Linked DNA regions of Homo sapiens: all the other regions are linked to region 1. The links are contacts of gene promoters, found by promoter capture Hi-C in human tissues and cell types (Jung and others, 2019). All regions are on one chromosome and are shown on one strand. The core of a region is centred on a gene start or on the middle of the fragment in contact, and the rest is flanking DNA. Distances in the headings are between cores, read along the strand shown. Region 1 holds the start of CDC25A (cell division cycle 25A). Region 2 holds the start of COL7A1 (collagen type VII alpha 1 chain). Region 3 overlaps PFKFB4 (6-phosphofructo-2-kinase/fructose-2,6-biphosphatase 4). Region 4 overlaps MAP4 (microtubule associated protein 4). Region 5 overlaps SHISA5 (shisa family member 5).

Region 1 (2,974 bases), core at 214-2,713:
CTCGGTCTCCCAAAGTGCTGGGATTACAGGCGTGAGCCACCGCTCCCGGCCTGTTGAGCCAAGTATTAAACCACATAAAACACAGGAGGAGAGGAAAGTATTCAGAGATACGACAGGGAGAACTATTTGAAACAGTGGGACCACAGACCATGTGAACTGTGCAGAGAGGCCTAAATAGCCTGGGGTTTCTGGAGGGAAGGGAGGTTCCTGGGTGGTGGAGCACTGGTGCACAGAAAAGGAGATGAATCCTGAGAGAGAGGTTCCTCACTGTGAAGGGTCTGGTGTTGGGGCCAAAGGTTTGGGGTTTCCACCTGTCCAGCATGGCTTTTCAAACTGTAGGGTTTTTTTTTTTTGAGTGGGGGGCAGGGGGTGTCTCACTTTGTTGCCCAGGCTGGTCTCAAATTCGTGGGCTCAGGCAATCCTCCCACCTCGCCCTCCCAAAGTGCTGGGATGATAGGCGTGAGCCACTAAGCCCAGCAGTAGGTTGCAATTAAATCATGCACTTATGGCCCTCAAAATCCGTCTAGGAGCTGCCACAGGTTCGGCGCTGTAAAAGTAAATATGCCCACTTAGAAAATGGGGATAATTCCTATGTCACAGAGTTGTAAAGATTAAATGAATTAATACAGATTAACACACTGGGAACAGTGTCAAGTGCATAAGCATTATGTAAACTTTAGCTATTATTTGCTATTATTGTGTTTGCTGTTATTTCTCTCTAGGAGCTCCCAGGGGGCTAAGAAGTGGTGGGAAAGAAAGAAATGATTCTAAGAGCATCCAATAAGGGCTAGAATGGAAGTGAGCAAAAAATGCTGAGGCCCACAGCACAGGTTGTACTGCGGGGTTCAAATCCCATGAGGCCAGCAGCACCCAGGGTCTGTGAGCCCTCCAGAGTTGGGCCCTGGTGGTCGAGTCCAGTCCTGGGGGTCATTGCATTCCCTCCCTCATTATAAAATGGGGCCTGGAGGCCCGGGGCGGAAGAAAGGGGTCCACAATACTGCACGGTTAGAGGCCGAGCCAAGGCTGGATCCGGCCAGACCTCCACAGGTCTTCCTTAGCCTCCACATTGCCTCAGAGTGTGGGGCGCCCGGCTGGGGGCGAGGTAGCGGAGGCCCAAAGGGGGCCGAAGCTAACTGGACGGCAGCTCGCGATGGGAACTACGCTTCCCAGCATGCGACGGGGCAAAGGGGCCTTTCAGCCGCGAGCAGCGCCTCGCAGGTTCTGCTGGGAGTTTTCATTGACCTCTGCTCCCCCTCTCATTTTGATCCCCGCTCTTCTGCTCTGGGCTCCGCCCCCTTCTGAGAGCCGATGACCTGGCAGAGTCCCGCGAGCCGCTTTCTTCTTCCCCTCTCATTGGCCCAGCCTAGCTGCCATTCGGTTGAGAGGAGGAGAAGTTGCTTACTGATTGGTGGATTCCGTTTGGCGCCAACTAGGAAAGGGGGGCGGGGCAGCAGCTGGCCCCACTGAGCCGCTATTACCGCGAAAGGCCGGCCTGGCTGCGACAGCCTGGGTAAGAGGTGTAGGTCGGCTTGGTTTTCTGCTACCCGGAGCTGGGCAAGCGGGTGGGAGAACAGCGAAGACAGCGTGAGCCTGGGCCGTTGCCTCGAGGCTCTCGCCCGGCTTCTCTTGCCGACCCGCCACGTTTGTTTGGATTTAATCTTCAGGTTGCCGGCGCCCGCCCGCCCGCTGGCCTCGCGGTGTGAGAGGGAAGCACCCGTGCCTGTGGCTGGTGGCTGGCGCCTGGAGGGTCCGCACACCCGCCCGGCCGCGCCGCTTGCCCGCGGCAGCCGCGTCCCTGAACCGCGGAGTCGTGTTTGTGTTTGACCCGCGGGCGCCGGTGGCGCGCGGCCGAGGCCGGTGTCGGCGGGGCGGGGCGGTCGCGGCGGAGGCAGAGGAAGAGGGAGCGGGAGCTCTGCGAGGCCGGGCGCCGCCATGGAACTGGGCCCGGAGCCCCCGCACCGCCGCCGCCTGCTCTTCGCCTGCAGCCCCCCTCCCGCGTCGCAGCCCGTCGTGAAGGCGCTATTTGGCGCTTCAGCCGCCGGGGGACTGTCGCCTGTCACCAACCTGACCGTCACTATGGACCAGCTGCAGGGTCTGGGCAGGTAAGGAGAGACCGGCGGGCGGTGCTCCGGGCCCCTGGCCTCGGTGTCGGCCTCGGAGAGATCAGGCCAGGAAACGGACCGGGAGAAGGGCGAGACCCGTCCGTCCGGGTTCGCCGCTCGGGGACAGCCGGGCTAGGGCCTGCCATGTGCACCCCCGCCCGGGCGGAATGTTGGGCGGGAGAGGCCGTCGGGACCTTCCAGGGGAAGAGGTGGAGATCCTTGGGCCTAAGCCCGAGCCAGGCCCACCTTCACCCCTTTCGGATTGCTCCGTACTCTCCTTCTATCTCTATCCCTGGAAGCTCTTTGGAATCTACCCCCGCGGGGAAAATCAGGCTCTTCTAGGCACTCACTTTCACCCTTTGCTAAACCATCCTCAGGATCTTCGTTTGCTGTGATCTTTGTTCCTTCTCAACAAAGGACCATGGCATTTTCTTTCCTGGCGTTTATGTAAAATCATCTCAGTCCCTCGCCCTGTGCACATTCCTGATGTCCACTCTGCTGCTTTCCTAAGGCCAGGTCTTTTTACCCAACTTTCAGAAAGCTTCCTGGGCTTTTCCTGATAGCAAAAAATGCATCCCACGGTGTTTCCCGCGGAAGAGCTACTTTCCCTTCAATCTCTGGCATCCCGTTTGCTAAGCACATGTCTTGTGCGTTTCCCAACTTCTGAAAAGCAGAAAGTGTCCTGTTCAACTTTCATCCCGACTCTGTCTCAGTACTTAGAACACATGCTTTTATTTTAGGAAATACCCCAACATTTGCCATAGCCATCATAACCTGCAATGTGGTCCAAGGCCATGCCCACCCACTCCTTTTTTCTCCTTTGCCCAAGTGCTAATTGGGTGTTCAGAGTGGCAAAGTGGGATCTTTGCCAC
Region 2 (2,974 bases), core at 282-2,781, 410 kb before region 1:
GGGGCTGCCTGTGTGATAACATACCTGGTTCTCTGCAGCCCCCCACCTGGAGCACACCTTGCAGGGATGGGGGGTCCTGGGACATGGCTGAGGAGACCCTGACCTTGGAATAAGGTCATAGCACTATGCCCCAGGATAGTTTGGGGGGTCAGTAATAAGGGATAGAGCCCCAGCCTTCCTTGGGCAATAGGAAAGCAGGCAGCATGGATGGTCTTCACTGCCTCCAGCTCTGGCCACACCAGAGTCCTCGGGCTGTGGAGGAGTCCAGCCAGTGCTGTCCCCATATCTCCCTGTGGATCCCAGGGGAGGCTGTGGGGCCGGGCATATTAGAAGGGGCCCAGCAGCCTTGGTGAGTATAGATGTGCTTTCTGGGCTGCCCAGAGTTATTCAGGATTAGCAGGAAAAAAAGGGGGAGCAGGACCCAGATGGGGGCCTGCCCTTCTTAGCAGTGCCTCTCTGCCTTAGTGTCACCCATCTAATGGAGAGATATGCATATACAGAGCCCCACCTCCTTCGGACAGTGGCCCTGGCGTGGTGTGTGTTGGAGGACTGTCCACAGCCTCAGAAGCGAAGCTGGGGGAGGGTGTGAAGTCAGCCTGGGTAAGGGGACAGGAGTAAGGTAGGGGGCAGTTATGAAGCTGGAAGCTACAGGTACCATGAGGGCAGTGAGGAAAGGAGGAAGGGGCCCAAGGGGACCTCGGCCTGGTAGGGGAGATGGGTGGCAGGGACCTACAAGAAAAGTAGATGGAAGGAGAGGATGCCTGTGGGTGAGGACATGTAGGTAGGGGGACCTGGCCTGGGGCATGGAGGGCTCGATTCCTGAGAGATGAGCTGTCACTGTGGGTGGTCCCGCCCTCCACAGATGGGCGGCCCCCTCCCTGCAGGCACAGCTGGATTGCATCTGCCTGTGACATGGTAGGGGATGTGGGACACTGGGATGTATGCATAAGCATGACACAGGTTCTCTCCTCCTTCCGGCTTATCCCCTACAAAGAGGGGGTGAGTTACTTGGATCCAGGCCAAGGGGACCTTGGTTTCCCTAAGACCGGCCCAGAGTCACTCATTTGCCAGGGCTTCTTGCCTGTCAAGGAGATCCGGGTGGGGCCCAGGAGGCCCACCAGACAGATGGCTGAATCACAGGAGTGGCCGGCGGGACCCATGGCCTGAGGGCTTGTCTGGGCACCCCCACTGGATTGGGGGTGAGTCATCCCCAACTGCAGCCCCACCCCCCACGGCGCTGCTGCCTTGTGGCTCTGCAGGAACCTGTCCACTCCTCAGCCTGGTCACTGTGATTGACCTAAAGCAGCCAAGACCTGTGACCTTAGATGGAGTTAGGGGTACTCCCTCAGCATCTGCCCATGCAGAACCTTCTGGGAAATTCCCAGAAGCCACGGGGGGTCGGGGGGTTTATAGTTAAGTGCGTCATATCGTTTGTCTGGGGGAGGGGTGGGGGGGGCGGCGACCTCTCAGGGATATGGGTGAGGGCGGGTGCCTGGGTTCCCGCCTGCCGCTCCGCCCCCCGAGATCAGGGACTTTTCTCTGCTCTGCCCGAGAGACTGCAGCGGCGGCGGCGGGAGCGGGCGGACGCGCAGGCAAGACCAGGACTCGGGCTGGAGGGGCGCTGGGCTCGGACCTGCCAAGGCCACGGGGGAGCAAGGGACAGAGGCGGGGGTCCTAGCTGACGGCTTTTACTGCCTAGGATGACGCTGCGGCTTCTGGTGGCCGCGCTCTGCGCCGGGATCCTGGCAGAGGCGCCCCGAGTGCGAGCCCAGCACAGGGAGAGAGGTGGGCACCGCAAGGGAGGACCCGGCCCGGGGCACTGCACCGTGCCACCCTCCGCTCCACTCGGCCTTCATCCCCAACACCCCCCGCCCACAACCCAGCCAACTCCACGACGCCCCGCGGATTCCTCCTAATTCTGGGACTCCCCGAACCCTCCGCGATCGGTGCTGGGTTCCCTAAACCGCCTCCTATCCTGTTCCTACCCAAATTCTGGCTCCCTGGATGCGTGCGGGGTCCCCTGCCTTATGCCAATCCACGCCGGCCCCTAGAGGCTGACCTCAGTCCCAAGTCCACACCCGTGCTGGCGACTCTCCCTCCCCCGCACACCCCCAACCCTCCGCGGGAGTCTGCTCTGGGACCCACCGAGCTCAACTCCCTCCAAGGCCCTCAGGCTCAGGCCGATTCGGCCCTGGTTTGCATAAGATGAGGCCTACTCTCCCCACCATCCCAAGTCCCAGTGAGGCCACCGTGCGGGTAGGCGGGTGGTTGGCCTCCCAGAAGAGGCCCTGATCTCTCCTGCCCGCCCCAGTGACCTGCACGCGCCTTTACGCCGCTGACATTGTGTTCTTACTGGATGGCTCCTCATCCATTGGCCGCAGCAATTTCCGCGAGGTCCGCAGCTTTCTCGAAGGGCTGGTGCTGCCTTTCTCTGGAGCAGCCAGTGCACAGGGTGTGCGCTTTGCCACAGTGCAGTACAGCGATGACCCACGGTGAGTAGGGGCCCTGGGGGCTGGGGACCACGAGATCCCCACCAAGACTCCTTCCCCAGAGAGGGAGGAGACCCTGGAAACCCCAGGCCAGGTCTTTGCAGAAACAAGTTTTGGGGAACCTAGAGACCCCCTAGCCAGGACCTCCTTTGGAGACAGAGGTAAGGATTCCCTAGGTAGAACCTTCGTGCCCTGAGGCACCTCCAGGCTACTGCAAGACAGGAAGGTGCAAGACAGTGAGGCTGTGTTTTCTGATCTGGAGATGGGGAGCCCAGGAGGGGGCCCCCACGCCTGTTGGATTCTCCACGTTCTAGCCCTCTAACCCTTGCAGCCGTTCACCAGAGGTGCTCCATCTGGCCAGCATCCACTTTCCTACATCTGGACCCCTCCTCCTGCAATTATTTAATTAAGCAGCATCTTGTTCCCCACAGACTGTGAGCCCCTAAGGGCTCCTTCAGGTCTGCCCAGGCCCACCTGCAGATGGT
Region 3 (2,974 bases), core at 244-2,743, 340 kb before region 1:
TTCAGTGGTTTTTAGTGTGTTCAGAGTTGTGCAACCATCACCACAATCAGTTTTAGAACATTTCATCACCCCAGATAGAAATCCTGTGCCCATCAACAGTCACTTCCCATTTCCCTCTAACCCTTCCTTCTGCCTTAAGCTACCACTAATGTTTTCAAGGTTTATTCGTGTAGCATGTAGCAGTATTTCATTCCTTTACATTGCCAAATAACATCCTATTATATAAATATACCACACATTATGTATCCATTCATCAGTTGATGGGCATTTGAGTTGTTGCCACTTTTGGGCTATGTGGATAATGCTGCTGTGAACATTCATGTCCAAGGTGTTTTCTATGTTTGTTTGTTTGAGACAGGGTCTTGCTTTGTTGCCCAGGCTGAGTGCAGTAGCACGATCTTAGCTCACTGCAGCCTCCATCTCCTGGGCTCAAGCAATCCTCCCACCTCTGTCTCCCAAGTAGCTGGGACTACAGGAACTCGCCACCACACCCAGCTAATTTTTGTATTTGTTTGTAGAGATGGGGTTTCATCATGTTGCCCAGGCTGGTCTCAAACTCCTGGGCTCAAGAGATCTACCTGCCTTGGCCTCCCAAAGTGCTGGGATTACAGACATGAGCCACCGCATCCGGCATAAGTTTTTGTGCGGACTTATATTTTTATTTCTCCTCACTGTACGCTAGGAGTAGAATTGCTGGGTCATATGGTAATTATACATTCAACCTTTTCAGAAACTGCCACACTGTTTCGCCATCTCACATTCCCTCCCGCAGTGTGTGAGGGCTCTGATTTCTCCACATACCCGCCTGCGCTTGTTACCATCAGTCTTGGTTGTAGCCGTCCAACATGGGAACTCAGTTTAGCCACATTCTCTGCCACTTTATAACATGGATTACCTTTTCTCTAGGGTCCAGGAAAAGGTACCTCATTTCCCCTTGTGGGCTCACAGAGGCACCTTTAATGTTCATATTTCTATCAACGTTCTTTTCATGATGATATATGTGCTCTTTACGATGGTGGAAGCTGGCCGGGCGTAGTGGCTCATGACTGTAATCCCAGCACTTTGGGAGGCCGAGATGGGCAGATCACATGAGGCCAGGAGTTCGAGACCAGCCTGGTCAACATGGCGAAACCCCGTCTCTACTAAAAATACAAAAAATTAGCCAGCCATGGTGGCCTGTGCCTGTAATCCCAGCTACTCAGGAGGCTGAGGCAGGAGAATTGTTTAAACATGGGAGGCAGAGGTTGCAGTGAGCTGAGATTGCACCACTGCACTCCAGCCTGGGCAACAGAGTGAGACCCTGTCTCAAAAAAAAAAAAAAAAAAAAAGATGATGGACGCTTTCTCTGTCATCCTCTTCACTTCCTTCTGTGCCTTCACCAGAATAATCTTTAATGTCTAAATTTCTACTAACAGTCTCTTCAAGACAGTCTAAGCTTTTTATCATGCACCACAAAATTCTTCCAGCCTCTACCCACTATCCCATTTCATAACCACTTCCACATTTTTAGTTCTTTATTACAGCAGCCAGCAGCACTTCACCTCCTGGTACCAAAATATGTGTTAGTATTCAAGTGTGGTGGCGCACACCTGTAGTCCCAGCTACTTGGGAGGCTGAGGTGGGAGGATCACCTGAGCCTGGGAAGTTTGAGGCTGCAGTGAGCCAAGATCACACCACTGGACTCCAGCCTGTGTGACAGAGTAAGACTGTCTCAAAAAAAAAAAAAAAACCACTAAATGTTAAAAAAAAAAAAAGTATTAGTTTACTAGGGCTGCCGTAACAAAGCACTACAGGTGAGTGGCTTAAAACAACATGAATTGATTCTCTCACAGTTCTGGAGGCTAGAAGTCTGAAATCAAGGCGTCAGCGGGGCCATGCTCCCTCTGAAGGTGCTAATAAAGAACGCTTCCTCACCTCTTCCTAGTTTCCAGTTGTTGCTGGTAATCCTTGGTATTTCTTGGCTCATAGCCTCATCACTCCAATCCCACCTCTGTCCACGGTCATCACATGGCTTTCTTCCCTATGTATGTCTGTCTGTGCCTTCACATGACATTCTTTTTTTTTTTTTTTTTGAGATGGAGTCTCGCTCTGTCACCCAGGCTGGAGTGCAGTGGCATGATCTCAGCTCCCTGCAATCTCTGCCTCCCGGGTTCAAGAGATTCTTCTGCCTCAGCCTCCCAAGTAGCTGGGACTACAGGCGTGAGCCACCACGCCTGGCTAATTTTTGTATTTTTTTAGTAGAGACGGGGTTTCACCATATTGGCCAGGCTGGTCTCAAACTCCTGACCTCATGATCCACCTGCCTCAGCCTCCCAAAGTGCTGGGATTACAGGCATGAGCCACTGTGCCCGGCCTACATGGCGTTCTTAAAAGGACACCAATGACTGGATTTAGGACCCACTCTAATCCAATATGTCCCCATCTTTTTTTTTTTTTTTTTGAGACAGAGTCTCATTCTCTTCCCCAGGCTGGAGTGCAGTGGCGTAATCTTGGCTCACTGCAATCTCCACCTCTTGGGTACATGCGATTCTCCTGCTTCAGCCTCCTGAGTAGCTGGGACTACAGGCGTGCGCCACCACGCCCAACTAATTTTTGTATTTTTAGTAGAGACGGGGATTCATCATGTTGACCATGCTGGCCTTGAACTCCTGATCTCAGGTGATCCACCTGCCTCAGCCTCCCAAAGTGCTGGGATTACAGGCTGTGAGCTGTGAGCCACCACGCCCAGCCAACTTTTCTTTTTTTTTCTTTTCTTTTGAGAGGGAGTCTCTCTCTGTTGCCCAGGCTGGAGTGCAGTGGCACAATCTCAGCCCACTGCAACCACTGCCTCCTCCACCATGTTGGCCAGGCTGGTCTTGAACTCCTGACCTCAAGTGATCCGCCTGCCTCAGCCTCCCAAAGTGCTGGGATTACAGGCGTGAGCCATCGCGCCCAGCCAGCTTTTTTTTTTTAATGGCATTTGTAGAAGATGATC
Region 4 (2,974 bases), core at 155-2,654, 300 kb after region 1:
ACCCAAAGAGTGAGCAGTAGCAAGATTTATTGCAAAGAACGAAAGAACAAAGCTTCCACAGTGTGGAAGGGGACCCGAGCGGGTTACCAGTGCTGGCTCGGGCAGCCTGCTTTTATTCTCTTATCTGGGCCCACCCACATCCTGCTGATTGGTAGAGCCGAGTGGCCTGTTTTGTCAGGGCACTGATTGGTGCGTTTACAATCCCTGAGCTAGATACAAAGGTTCTCCGTGTCCCCATCAGATTAGTTAGATACAGAGTTTCGACACACAGATTCTCCAAGGCCCCACCAGAGCAGCTAGATACAGAGTGTCGATTGGTGCACTCACAAACCTTGAGCTAAACACAGGGTGCTGATTGGTGTGTTTACAAACCTTGAGCTAGATGCAGAGGTTCTCCAAGGCCCCACCAGAGCAGCTAGATACAGAGTGTCGATTGGTGCATTCACAAACCTTGAGCTAAACACAGGGTGCTGATTGGTGTGTTTACAAACCTTGAGCTAGATACAGAGTGCCGATTGGTGTATTTACAATCCCTGAGCTAGACATAAAGGTTTTCCAAGGCCCCACCAGAGCAGCTAGATACAGAGTGTCGATTGGTGGATTCACAAACCTTGAGCTAAACACAGGGTGCTGATTGGTGTATTTACAATCCCTGAGGTAGATATAAAGACTCTCCACGTCCCCACCAGACTCAGGAGCCCAGCTGGGTTCACCTAGTGGATCTCGCACTGGGGCTGCAGGTGGAGCTGCCTGCCAGTCCTGCGCCGTGGTGCGTTCGCATTCCTCAGCCTTTGGGTGGTTGATGGGACTGGGCGCCGTGGAGCAGGGGGTGGTGCTTGTCAGGGAGGCTCGGGCGGCACAGGAGCCCATGGAGGGGTGGGAGGCTGAGGCATGGCGGGCTGCAGGTCCCGAGCCCTGCCCCGCGGGAAAGCAGCTAAGGCTCAGTGAGAAATCGAGCGCAGCACTTATGGGCCGGCACTGCTGGGGGACTCAGTACACCCTCTGCAGCCACTGGCCCGGGTGCTAAGTCCCCCATTGCCCGGGGCCAGCAGGGCTGGCTGGCTGCTCCAAGTGCGGGGCCCACCAAGCCCACGCCCACCCGGAACTCCAGCTGACCCGCAAGTGCTGCGCGCAGCCCCGGTTCCTGCTCGCGCCTCTCCTTCCACACCTCCCTGCAAGCTGAGGGAGCTGGCTCTGGCCTTGGCCAGCCCAGAAAGGGGGTCCCACAGTGCAGCGGCGGGCCAAAGGGCCCCTCAAGTGCCGCCAAAGTGGGAACCCAGGCAGAGGAGGCGCCGAGAGCAAGCGAGGGCTCTGAGGACTGCCAGCACGCTGTCACCTCTCACTACCATGTTCTGAAACTGTGGTGACTGCCTATGATAGCAGATAAAGTAGCTCCAGGTCAGCTTTAGGAAGATTTACTTGTTCTCAGTAAGTGTGATGAACTGGAAGACAAAGAGTTGAAAGCAAACAATCCTGTTAGAAATTTGATTCAGGTAGTGGCAGATGAAACGCTGAGGATATGAGAGGGGAAATATAACAGGTGAAGATAAAGTGAAACTGGAATTTGGAAGGTGTGTGAGAAAAAGGAATTGAAGGTCATGCTGTGATGTGAGGCTGGTTTTCCCAGCCAGTGGTAGTATAGGTAATGGAAAGACCCAACAGAAGAGCACAGTTCATTGAAGGAGTTAGTAAGTTCCACATCAGACATTGCTTTTGTGAAACTCTGGGGATATGTGGGTGGTGGTCTCTAGAAATTGCCTGATAGCTGGGCTTGGTGGCTCATGCCTGTAATCTCAGCACTTTGGGAGGCCTTGGCAGGCAGATTACTTGAGGCCAGGAGTTTGAGACCAGCCTGAGCAACATGGCAAAAAACCCATCTCTATGGAAAAATACAAAAATTAGGTGGGCATAGTGGCATGTACCTATAGTCCCAACTGTTTGGGAGGCTGAGGTGGGAGGATTGCTCGAGCCCAAAAGGACAAGGCTGCAGTGAGCCAAGATCATGCCACTGTGCTCCAGCCTGGGAGATAGATCAAGATCAGGTCTCAAAACAAACAACAAAAAAGAAGTTGCCTTATATATCCATGAGACAAGGGAAAGGGCTTGGTGAGAACTACCTTCTGGGAGAGAGAAAGCAGTTTCTGCTTATGCACAGTTACATTTATTTGTATAGGTCGAGTTACTGCATGCCTGTATCATAGACAATGCGACTTTATGAAATATGTTGTTTACTGAAAAATGCTGAACTTATTGAAAAATATTTATAGTGGTCTGGGGCCAGTGGCAGCTAGTTACACAAGTAAGATCTTCTTTGAGCTTGCTGTAGAACAAAGGCATTAGCCGGGCGCGGTGGCTCACGCCCGTAATCCCAACACTTTGGGAGGCCGAGGCGGGCGGATCATGAGGTCAGGAGATCGAGACCATCCTGGCTAACACAGCGAAACCCCAACTCTACTAAAAATGCAAAGAATTAGTTGGGCGTGGTGGCAGGCGCCTGTAGTCCCGGCTACTCGGGAGGCTGAGGCAGGAGAATGGCATGAACCCAGGAGGCGGAGCTTGCAGTGAGCCGAGATGGCGCCACTGCACTCCAGCCTGGGTGACAGAGCGAGATTCCGTCTCAAAAAAAAAAAAAAAAGAACAAAGGCGTTAACAAATTTGCACAGTTGTTGGCTATGGTTTTTCCCCATTACATTTTAAAACTAGAAAAATACTCAGTTTTTGACTAAAAGTACATATGGTTCAAACATCAAAAAGTACAAAGTGCTCTCCATTACAAAAACCTCCTACCAAGACAAGATGGTATCATCTCATTGTTTTCTGCTCCTCCCCTGTAAATACAACTAAATAGTCTGGAAATAATTGAAGATAATTCCATAAAAGAATATGAGGTAGAAAGAAGGCAAACCTGGTAGGGATCTCAGGACTTGAGGAATGGCAATACAGTGAATTCCCTGGGACTGATGAATTGATTGAT
Region 5 (2,974 bases), core at 206-2,705, 300 kb before region 1:
CCAGGAGGTGGAGGTTGTAGTGAACCGAGATTGCGCCATTGCACTCCAGCCAGCCTGGGTGGCAAGAGCAAAACTCCGTCTCAGAAAAAAAGCAACAACAACAAAAAAAACGGAGGTGGCGGCAACCTGGTTCCGGCCTGTGCACTCTGGGCCTGTGGTGGGAGTGGCAGCCTTGATGATTGAATTGTCTTTGAGGTCCTTTTCTTGTCTTTAAGAACACTGCACCTTGAAAATAGCGCTGCCAAGCATGATGGCTGACGCCTTTAATCCCAGTACTTTGAGAGGCTGAGATGGGAGGATTGCTTGAGCCCAGGAGTTCAAGACCAGCCTGGGCAATATAGTGAGACCTCGTCTCCATGATTTTTTTTTTTTAGTTAGCTGGGCATGGTAGCATGCACTTGTAGCCCCAGCTACTCAGGAGGCTGAGGTGGGAGGATTGCTTGAGCCTAGGAGATCAAGGTTGCAGTGAGCTGTGATCACACTACTGCACTCCAGCTTGGGTGGCAGAGTGAGACCCTGTCTCAAAAAAAAAAAAAAAAAAAAAAAAGGCCAGGCGCAGTGGCTCAAGCCTGTAATCCCAGCACTTTGGGAGGCCGAGGCGGGCGGATCACAAGGTCAGGAGATCGAGACCATCCTGGCTAACATGGTGAAACCCCGTCTCTGCTGAACAAAATAGAAAAAGTTAGCCAGGCATGGTGGCGGGCGCCTGTAGTGCCAGCTACTCAGGAGACTGAGGCAGGAATGGCGTGAACCCGGGAGGCAGAGCTTGCAGTGAGCTGAGATCATGCCACTGCACTCCAGCTTGGGTGACAGAGTGAGACTCTGGCTAAAAAATAAAAAAATAAAAAAATAGCTGTAGCAGGGGTGTCCAATCTTTTGCCTTCTCTGGGCCACTTTGGAAGAAGAAAATTGTCTTGGGCCACACATAAAACACACTAATGATAGCTGATGAGCAAAAAAAAAAAAAAAAAAATCTCATAATGTTTTAAGAAAGTTTAAGAATTTGTGTTGGGCCACATTCAAAGCCATCCTGGCCTGAATGTGGGCCGCTGGTCACAGGTTGGACAAGCTTGCTCTATGGCCCAGTCCTGTAGGATCTTAGATGTCCGACAGCCTTCCTTCACTTCATCCCCTTTCTCCCCTCTGGCAGGTGCTAGGGTGACTGATTAGGTCTGTGATTCATACCCATTCTAATCTCCTTACCTCGCAGTTTTTGGACTACTCTCTTAGTATTTACAGTATGGATAGGCTGAGAATTGTCCAGATTTTTAAATTCTAGTTCTTTTTTTGCTTAACAATTCATTTCTCTTTTTTCACTTTTTTTTTTTTTTTTTTGAGACGGAGTTTCGCTCTTGTTGCTCAGGCTGGAGTGCAATGGCATGAGCTCAGCTCACCGCAACCTCCACCTCCCGGGTTCAAGTGATTCTGCTGCCTCAGCCTCCCTAGTAGCTGGGATTACAGGCATGTGCCACCACGCACGGCTAATTTTGTGTTTTTAGTAGAGACGGGGTTTCTCCATGTTGGCCAGGCTGGTCTCGAACTCCCGACATCAGGTGATCTGCCCGCCTTGGCCTCCCAAAGTGCTGGGATTACAGGCGTGAGCCACCGCGCCCGGCCTTTTCACATTTTACTATAAGCAGTTGGCTGGGTGCGGTGGCTCACGCCTGTAATCCCAGCACTTTGGGAGGCCAAGGTAGGCGGATCATGAGGTCAGGAGATCAAGACCATCCTGGCTAACATGGTGAAACCCCATCTCTACTAAAAATACAAAAAGTTAGCCGGGCATGGTGGTGGGCACCTGTAGTCCCAGCTACTCGGGAGGCTAAGGGAGGAGAATGGCGTGAACCAGGGAGGCGGAGCTTGCATTGAGTCGAGATTGGGCTACAAGCAAGACTCTGTCTCACAAAAAAAAAAAAAAAAAAAAAAAGCAGTCAAGAGGATCCAAGCTGCTCCTTCAACACTAAGTATCCCATATATTTCAAGTTTTCCTCTGAATTGCTCAATCTTTTGTTTAATCTCTTTAAGCTCTTTTTTCCTTTAATCTCACTGTGTAATCTTTAAACAGTGTATGTGTTGTTATTCTAATGTCAGTGTCTGATAATTTCAGTATTTTAAGGCAAATTTTTCTCCTTAGCTTCACTGGTTTTCCTTCAAATGTATTAGGGTATAATTGTTTATAATGCTTTTAAATTTTGTTTTGTTTAACATCTAAAGAAATATCCCCCATGGGTACTTCTTTTGTTTTGTTTTGTTTTGGTTTGGTTTGGTTTTTTGAGACGGAGTCTCACTCTGTTGCCCAGGCTGGAGTGCAGTGGCATGATCTTGGCTCACTGCAACCTCTGCCTCCCAGGTTCAAGCGATTCTCCTACCTCAGCCTCCCAAGCAACTTGGGTTACAGGCATGTGCCACCATGCCCAGATAATTTTTTTGGTATTTTTAGTAGACAGGGTTTTGCTATGTTGGCCAGGCTGGCCTTGAACTCCTTACCTCAGGTGATTCACCCACCTTGGCCTCCCAAAGTGCTGGGATTACAGATGTGAGCCACTGCGCCCAGCTGGTATTTCTTTTTTTGTGTGTGTGAGACATACAAGGTCAGTATAGTAAAAAAATCTATTAAACTTCTAATTAAAAATATAATTTCAAAAGACGTTTCCAATAGCATCAAAAACATCAAATACCTAGGAAAGACAAAATTTCTACACAGAAAACTATGAACCATAAACTGTAAAACATACAAACTGTGTATTTATAAAACATATAAACATACAAACTATAAACATTAAAACGTATAAACTGTATGTTCATAAAGCATATAAACTATGTAACTATATAAACTATAAAATACATAAAACATTATTACAAAAAATCATAGCCCTAAATAAATGGAGGCATAGACAGGGCTCATGAATTGGAAGACCATATTTTAAAGATATTGATTCCCCTCAAATTGGTATATGGAATTTGTTAAATTTCA

What was found. The method cuts DNA at HindIII sites, captures the fragments that hold promoters and counts their contacts. A contact is called where the count stands out against the background at its distance.
Region 2: a contact is called between the fragment with the promoter of COL7A1 here and the fragment with the promoter of CDC25A in region 1, in 1 of the 25 tissues and cell types used here (lymphoblastoid cells).
Region 3: a contact is called between a fragment that was not itself captured here and the fragment with the promoter of CDC25A in region 1, in 2 of the 25 tissues and cell types used here (IMR-90 fibroblasts and pancreas).
Region 4: a fragment that was not itself captured here is called in contact with the fragment with the promoter of CDC25A in region 1 in 2 of the 25 tissues and cell types used here (aorta and mesenchymal stem cells).
Region 5: a contact is called between a fragment that was not itself captured here and the fragment with the promoter of CDC25A in region 1, in 1 of the 25 tissues and cell types used here (H1 embryonic stem cells).

Annotation. Positions count from the first base shown.
Region 1 is chr3:48,186,906-48,189,879 of GRCh38, reverse strand. CDC25A (cell division cycle 25A) reads left to right here and starts at 1,463. Exons shown (of 15, transcript NM_001789.3): 1 at 1,463-2,102. The coding sequence starts at 1,933. RefSeq lists a silencer at 1,797-2,006 and an enhancer at 1,750-2,378. The HindIII fragment of the contact is 16,525 bases long and covers 1-2,974 here.
Region 2 is chr3:48,593,886-48,596,859 of GRCh38, reverse strand. It overlaps COL7A1 (collagen type VII alpha 1 chain), which reads left to right and starts at 1,531. Exons shown (of 119, transcript NM_000094.4): 1 at 1,531-1,592; 2 at 1,700-1,785; 3 at 2,312-2,492. The coding sequence starts at 1,701. The HindIII fragment of the contact is 15,548 bases long and covers 1-2,974 here.
Region 3 is chr3:48,526,039-48,529,012 of GRCh38, reverse strand. The region is part of intron 9 of PFKFB4 (6-phosphofructo-2-kinase/fructose-2,6-biphosphatase 4); the gene reads left to right. Among named protein-coding and RNA genes, the nearest start is that of MIR6823, 22 kb to the left of the region's middle. The HindIII fragment of the contact is 3,007 bases long and covers 1-2,974 here.
Region 4 is chr3:47,885,392-47,888,365 of GRCh38, reverse strand. The region is part of intron 10 of MAP4 (microtubule associated protein 4); the gene reads left to right. Among named protein-coding and RNA genes, the nearest start is that of MIR1226, 37 kb to the right of the region's middle. The HindIII fragment of the contact is 3,092 bases long and covers 1-2,950 here.
Region 5 is chr3:48,487,195-48,490,168 of GRCh38, reverse strand. All of the region lies in intron 2 of SHISA5 (shisa family member 5), which reads left to right. Among named protein-coding and RNA genes, the nearest start is that of SHISA5, 15 kb to the left of the region's middle. The HindIII fragment of the contact is 5,851 bases long and covers 1-2,974 here.